Regions from separate parts of the Homo sapiens genome. Here region 1 is linked to region 2. The links are contacts of gene promoters, found by promoter capture Hi-C in human tissues and cell types (Jung and others, 2019). All regions are on one chromosome and are shown on one strand. Each heading gives the region's core, a stretch centred on a gene start or on the middle of the fragment in contact. The rest is flanking DNA. Distances are from core to core; before and after follow the strand shown. Region 1 has its middle 220 kb from the start of LINC01256. Region 2 holds the start of PCDH10 (protocadherin 10).

Region 1 (4,082 bases), core at 834-3,333, 340 kb after region 2:
TTAATCCAATTGGCTATCCCTTTCACCCTAGCATTTCATCAACCAGAAAAAGAAAAGTAAGACATCATAAAGCGAGAGAAGCCCCTTATGGGCCTTTTGACTCTCACGTCTATTTAAACACAACTGGAGTCCCACGGGGAATGCTAGATCAATTTAAAGCCCAAAATCAAATAGCTGCAGGATTTCAGTCAATATTTTGGTGGGTGACAATTAATAAAAATGTAGGTTGGGTAAAGTACAGCTACTACAACCAACAGCGATTTATTAACTACACTAGAGATGTTGTTAAAGGAAGTGCTGAGCAATTAGGGGCTACTAGCCAGATGGCTTGGGAAAATAGGACAGCCTTAGACATGATATTAGCAAAAAGAGGAGGAGTTTGCATCATGATTAAAACTCAATGTTGTACCTTCATCCCAACAATACCGCTCCTGATGGAAGTATAACAAAGGCATTGCAGGGTCTGACTGCTCTGTCCAATGAGTTAGCCAACAACTCAGTGGTAAATGACCCCTTTACAGAATGGCTAGAAAAGTGGTTCAGTAAGTGGAAAAGGATAATAGCCTCAGTTCTTGCTTCCCTCACAGCTGTAATGGGTGTACTTATTCTTGTCAGGTTCTGTGTCACACTGTGCATCCGTGGGTTGGTGCAGAGGCTCATAAAAACGGCACTTACTAAAACCTCCCTTAACTATCTTCCACCTTAACCAGAGAAGCTGCTTCTTTTGGAAAATCAAGCAGAACAACTAAGCCAAGACATGTTAAAAAGTTTGAAAAGAAAGAGCTGTAAGGCAGTGCAAGAAGAGGGGTTGTTAGATATGAGTTCTAAATTTCTTTTCAAATAATCAATATGTCAGTATGTCCAATTCTTTGCCTACTACTTTTAAACTTAACTTCCTCATAAAGCAACCTTTTTCTACTGCCTGCTCCACCCTGACTCATTCCGATTACCTACTCCACCTGACTCATTCTGATTACCTGCTCTGTCAAAACCATTTTTCCCACCAAACCACTCACCCCATCACTCTCTTTAAATTAGCCAATCAGAATTAGTTTAGCCTGTGCAGTCTAACCCTAGCCAATAGGGGAATGAGACAGCAGCAGGGGCCACTTGTGTCAGGGGTACGAACTCCTTCCCCTCCCTTATCCAAGTGTGCACTCACCATTGCTCCTTCTGTAAGGGTGCACCCTTCTATAGAAGTAACTTGCCTTGCTGAGAATTAAAAAGAAAATTTTATGTTCGAGTGCTATTTCTTTTGAGGCACTGAAACTTTGTTTATAACAAATATATAAGAGATATGGAAGATTGTAGCACATGACAAATAATAAATGTTGGAGAAATTATGACATAAATGATGAGACCTAAAATGCAAAGTGTTACTGATTTTGAAGATAATTATTTTACAAAGATGATATGTTTGTAATTAAAAAAAAATAATGGTTGGGAGCAGTGGCTCACATCTGTAATCCCAGCACTTTGGGAGGCCAAGGCAGGTGAATCACGACATCAGGAGTTCAAGACCAGCTTGGCCAACATGGTGAAACCCCGTCTCTACTAAAAATACAAAAATTAGCTGGACTTGGTGGTGGGTGCCTGTAATCCCAGCTTCTTGGGAGGCTGAGGCAGGAGAATCCCCTGAACCTGGGAGGCGAAGGTTGCAGTGAGCCAAGATCACGCCACTGCACTCCAGCCTGGGTGACAGAGCGAGACTCCATCTCAATATAAAATAATAATAATAACAAAAAACTATAACCTTAAGTTGAATTTTTATAGTAGTTTTTAAATGAAAGGTACTCATTAAGTCTGTGGCAATATTTAAAAAAACAGATATATAGTACTAAAATTCCTGAATTTCAAGAATAAATAAAAATAGTCATATGTATTTACACAGGAAAATGATTATATAAAAATGAAAGAAGATCTCATAACTTTCTTAAGTACTTTAATGGGAGTTACATGACAGTTGAAATAAATTGACATTTGAGACAAAAGTCCTATACCCTCACAAAATTTACCATTAACGTGTTTAAAAGAAAATTTTTTCTTTCTATGGATTTGTCTCTTTCTATAGAATTTTCTGTATCTACTGATATATATATACATACATATATATATCAGATGTTAAATAATAGTTATATTCATATATATACAGGAGTTGTAGTTGAAGAGATAATATATATACACATATATGTGTATATATATCAGAGGTTAAAGAATAGTAATTATACTTATGATTAAAACAAAAGAAATATTTTTATTTCAACATCACTTTGGGTCAGAGACATGATGATGAAATATAATTTATTTGTTTTAATCATACACTCTGGGGTACTATTGATAGTCATCAGACATTCTCATAAGATATTTGATATGTACTAGAAGCTAGTCTTATTGAGTCACAAAAGAATTTAAAATATACACTTTTTAGAGATGAGGACATGTGAGTCCCTCCTTTCCTAACTAAAAGGAGAGAAAGCAGGGATTTGGGGACTTATGTGCAATTGCTGAGAATATGATTCTTTAGGCGTGTAATAAAACAGAAATACTCTGTTTAAGCCAGTGAAGTTATGAACATAAAGATAATGATATAACAGTGTTAATATAACTTCTGTCCCCTCTGGCAATGCTGTTGATTAATGATTGTTTGTAAAATCATTAACAGGTATGCTGAACTGGAAAAAATCCATTATTGTTTTTACATGTACAAAGTAAAAATGAGACCTAGAATAAATGTCTTAAAGTCATGTTTGTAAAAAATAAGGCATAATAAAACCACAGCTTTTTAATGACATGTTTTAGTGGAATTTTTTTCTACTTCTATATTTTTGTCTACCATGAAGGGTTTATTGATGTTCTGTTTGAGGTTATAACTCAATTCAACCAAATAAGGTCAGGGTCTCTGTTCAATTTCTGTACACTAATTAGTTAATGAGCATCACTTGCATTGTTAGAAGCTTTCTTTAAAAGTACCATGCTTGAAGAGACCGGAGGCAAAATTCTCCCATTAGATATCCATCTGTAACCATCACTAATTTGAATTGAAGTTTCTACATAAATAGCCTGGGGTAGAATTTAGATCTAGAAAACAAGATCTGGGAAAAGTCAGTAAATGTTTTATTTTTCTAATTCATTACTTTTGTAATTAATTTAACAATATCTACTTACAACATGTTTTCCAAAATGTTAATTGATTATTACAAAAGATAAATAATCTTACATTTTTGTTTTTGGATTATTCTCATATGTTTAGAAATAAACTTTACCTAAAGTGAATTGAAGAGTGAAAAAGAAGATGTTAAATGTACTTAATGGTTTCAAAATTGTAGTAATAAAGTCTTTCTTGTGATACACTGAAAGCAATTTCACACACATTGACTCCGATTCAGGATATGACAAGTACCTTTCTATATAAAGCGTTAAGCCACATAAGGGATTGAAATCAACTTGTTCAGATCCCTGGGGCACTTAACTGACCTAACTGATAATTAAAGATTGAGTAGGTTTTAGTTGAAAACAATAACTAATGTTATAAAATCAGAGGACTGCTGCTGCATTTTGCTTCTGTCGCATGTAAAATTAGCATTTTTCTCTATAATATTTTTAACTGGAATTGTGGCATGTATTATTCTTTGATCATTCCATTGTTAATATTTTTTGTGTTGTTTTACCTGAGGTTTATTGAGGGGTATAAGGATAAGAAATTTAGAAAAAGTACACGCGGTGAAGCTGTTACATTTCAGTATGGTATGTGCCCTTACACCATAATTTGGATAGTATTATTCAATTATCTTTTATTATGTTTTTATTAAGAAACATAAAATAATGGTGATGTTATTATTATTTTGCTTTGGAAACAGTAATATTAGATAGAGATACTTGGATGCGTTTCCAAATATGGGAGTCAATCCTTATCTTTTTGCAATACATTTTAAGCCAAACTGAAGTGGGAAAAGTTCCCTTATCCCCCTCACAGGGCTTGTGACAGGGACGTGAAATGACTGGCTTATTTGGTGCCCTGCTACTCAAACCCCTAGGGGGAGCATGCAGAGGAGCAGGTCATGGGGCTCCGACCCCGTGTCAGC
Region 2 (3,764 bases), core at 1,134-3,633:
GACGCTCATGCCCTGGATCTGGCACTCGAGGATAGAGTAGGCAAGCTGGGCGTTGGCGCCCTCATCCCGGTCGGTGGCGCTCACCGCGTAGATGTAGGCGCCAGGCACGTTGTTTTCAGTCACATACACGTCGTAGACCGGCTGGCTGAAACGCGGCGCGTTGTCGTTCACATCCGACACTTGTACCTGGATCGACTTACTGGTGGAGAGCGCAGGCTCGCCCCGGTCCCGAGCCACTACAGTCAGGGTGTAGGAGTCCCCCGCCTCTCGGTCCAGGGGGGCTTCGGTAACGATGGTGTAGTAATTCTTAAAGGAAGACTTGAGGCGGAAAGGCACGTCTCCCAGTAGCTCGCACTGCACCTGCCCATTCTCCTCTGAGTCGCGGTCAGTCACGCTGAAAAGGGCCACCACAGTGCCGGGCGCCGCGCCCTCACTCACCGCTTCCTTCACGGTGCTGAAGCTGATCTCTGGCGCGTTGTCATTAGCATCCAGTACTCGCACTAGCACCTTGCAGTGCGCAGGCACGGCGTTGGGGCCCAGGTCCTTGGCTTGCACGTACACTTGGTACACTGGGCTCTCTTCATAGTCCAACTCGCCGCTTACCTCCAGTCTGCCAGTGCGCGGCGAGAGTCCGAAAAGCTCCCGCGCCCGGGGCGAAATGTGGCTGCTGAAGGAGTACACGACCTCACCGTTCTGGCCCTCGTCCGGGTCGGTGGCGTTGAGCTGGATCACGAGAGTGCCTGGGGGAGAGTTCTCTGGTAGGGACACAGTGTAGACGGGTTGGTCGAAAGCGGGCACATTGTCATTGGAGTCCAGCACTCGGATGGTGAGTAGGGCCGTGCCGGTGCGCTGCTGCTGGGGGGGCAGGCCTGCTCCCCCGCCACCTCCCCCTCCTTCTCCTACTCCTCCCCCACCTCCTCCGTCCACCGCGGTCAGCACGTAGCGGTGCACCGCTTGCTGCTCTCGGTCCAGTGGCTTCTCCAGCACCAGCTCAGCGAATCGGTTGCCATCCCCCTGGGTCTGCACGTCCAGGGAGAAGTAGCTGTTGGGGGTGATCTCGTAGTCGCGCAAGGAGTTGGTGCCCACGTCTGGGTCGAATGCGCTCTCCAAGGGGAAGCGAGTGCCTGGCGTGGCGCTCTCAGAGATTTCCACCGTCAGGTCTGGCTCCGGGAAAGAGGGGGGGTTGTCATTAATGTCCAGCACCTCGATCTCCACCTGGAACAGCTCCAGGGGGTTCTCCAGAAAGACCTCCAGGTGCAGGACACAGGAGGGGCTCTGTTTGCAGATTTGTTCGCGGTCTATTTTCTCGTTCACGTACAGCACCCCTGTCTCCAGGTTGAGGTCTAAGTAAGGGGTCCTTGAGTTGGGCACCGTCTGAAACCCGCGAGCCGAAAGTTTTGTAATGTCCAGACCCAGATCTTCAGCGATATTCCCCACGAAAGTGCCATGTTCCTGCTCCTCCTGTACCGTGTAGTGAAGCTGGGAAAAGACTCCTTCCACCATCCAGAGCAAGGCAAACAATAATAGCACAATCATCTCCAAAAGGAAAGGAAGTAGCTTCCCGCAGCCAGTCAGCCACCCAATCACCTCCCCCACCACCACGAAACAAAAAAAAATCTGAAAAAATACAAATAAAAGTGCGCTACGTGGGGGCTCCTGTGGCTTTCTGTCTTTAAAAATCTTACTCCTTTTGCTTCATTTTAGAGCTTCCCGCAATCCAGCCTCATTTTTTTTTAAATCTTAGCACAGGAAGGGTGACAGGCGTCCCCTTTCCTCATCTGTAATCTTTCCACTGACTAATTAATAAAATAACAATAATACAATAGTCAGCGTCCTTTATTCCGACAGTCTTGGCGCTGGCAAATCCCAAAGAGGAAATTTCGATATTTCAAGACTGTCCTCGGTTTGTCTTCTTGCTGATGGGAGGAGAACGAGGAGGAGGAAAAAGAGGAGGAGGAGGAGGAAGAAGAAGAAGAGGAAGAGGAGAAGGAAAAGGAGATGCTGTTGGCACCGTTAAACATGCCTCTTAATGTCAACGGCTGGCAAATGCAAAAGGGCTTAAAATCAGCGATATAATTTTGTGCCGGAAAAGCACAGAACGGCTCTGCAGCTTAAAACTTTCATTCTCTTCATTTCTCCGGATGGATGTTCTTCTTGACATTTTTTTCCTCTTTCGCTCTATTTGTATTTTTTGTCTTTCAGAGTCTTGGTTCCCTCTGTCCTCATCTCCACCGTTACTTGCCTCTCTGTAAGTGTAATGAGCAGTTTCTTTTCTGCTGTTTTCTTCCCAAGCCTCTTTCCCTCTAACCTGTCTCTTTTTCCTTCCAGTCCTTCCTTCCTCCTGCTTCAGCCTCTGAGCCTGTGGTCTGGGCTGGCAGTTTCTGAGCTCCGAGCGCTCGGCTTCTCCGTTTTTGCGCAGCGCCCTCATTCTGCCAACCAATCGCCCAGGAGCACCACCCACCGAGCTGCCGATGATTGGCCAAACTGGCCGCCAAACAGACACGTCACGCGGCAGCCGGGCGGGGCGGGACAGAACTCTCGCCCGAGCGGCCGGGGTGAGTGTGAGTGTGAGAGCGAGAACAGCCCCGCAGGTCCCGAGGCGCTGGCTGGGGACAATGCCGCGGAAAGTTCCCAGTCCCCAGCCGCAGGTAATGGGGAGGGAATAGAGAGGTTCCCCTGTTTGCATCAGCAAATGCGAAAACATAATAGCAACAGCTGCGATATCCTCTCCTAGGAGCGGGATTTCCAATGATGCTAACATTCTTTTTCCTTTAAGGTATTTTCCCTAATACGCATCATGGAAATAAATCATCGAGAAGGGAAAAAGTAGCGCAGGGCCCACTAATTGGCAAGGGTTACCTAATTAAGGGACCCTAGCAGAGACTGGCAGGGCATTTTAAAAGTGAGTATTATATGGCATGTGTCAATCTAAAGGTGAGGGGGTCTGACGGGGCCGTGAGGAAAGGCGCGAAGCATACGGAGTAGGGGGTGGAGGTGACTCCTAAAAAGCGGAGGAATTCACGCTAAAGGATGTGGGGATGACAGCGCTTACAGACGGGCAGACGCGTTCGACGTGCTTCTTTCCTCCCAAAATACATATTCACAAAATACTTACCAAGTAGATTAACTCACTCGAGGACCTAGCTTCGAGCCGTGAGCGCGTTCATCAGTGACTGAGGAGTTGATTTGAGCCGCTTCCTACAAGCCCGCCATCCTAACGCCGGGCTCTGGGGCATCCGGCACACAGCACCGCCAAGCGCTGCAAAGCGCCTCTGATATCCCTGCGCCTTGTGCGGCCAAGTGCCACGCAGCGGCTGGGAACACCGGCTATTTTCTATTTTTTTTTTGGCAATTGGAGATCGATCCCTTTACCCACCATGCTAGATTAGACCACTGATTTCTGCCAATCCTGGGGTCAGCCCGCGGGATGAGGACAGTGGGGCGGCGGCGAACGCGGGCGGGGTGGTGGGCAGGGCCCGTGCACACGAGGGGCCCGAGTGTGCACCGCTGCGGGTATCTGCGAACACGTTTGCACATGCACGGTACTTGCATCCATCCTCCCTGGCCCAGGGCTTAGCTCTGTGTAAGCCCCAACGGAGCCTCCCCGAGTTCCGAAGGACGCGCTTGACCAGCTGTGAGTGCCCCTTCCGGAGGCGCAGGGGCAACGCGGCACATCCACATAGCTAGTTCTTGTGAAGTTAAAACACAGCGCGAACTCTTTAATGCTGGAGAGTGGATAGAATGCCAGTTCTCTAAGGAAAGAT

What was found. Contacts are between HindIII fragments. The study calls those that stand out against the background at their distance.
Region 1: a fragment that was not itself captured here is called in contact with the fragment with the promoter of PCDH10 in region 2 in 2 of the 25 tissues and cell types used here (hippocampus and thymus).

The regions. Positions count from the first base shown.
Region 1 is chr4:132,809,811-132,813,892 of GRCh38, reverse strand. No RefSeq gene overlaps it. Among named protein-coding and RNA genes, the nearest start is that of LINC01256, 220 kb to the right of the region's middle. RefSeq lists an enhancer at 3,954-4,082. The HindIII fragment of the contact is 5,459 bases long and covers 1-4,082 here.
Region 2 is chr4:133,147,913-133,151,676 of GRCh38, reverse strand. PCDH10 (protocadherin 10) reads right to left here and starts at 2,383. Exons shown (of 5, transcript NM_032961.3): 1 at 1-2,383. The coding sequence starts at 1,536. PCDH10-DT (PCDH10 divergent transcript) reads left to right here and starts at 2,561. Exons shown (of 9, transcript NR_125885.1): 1 at 2,561-2,648. RefSeq lists a silencer at 2,330-2,469 and an enhancer at 2,580-2,639. The HindIII fragment of the contact is 10,822 bases long and covers 1-3,764 here.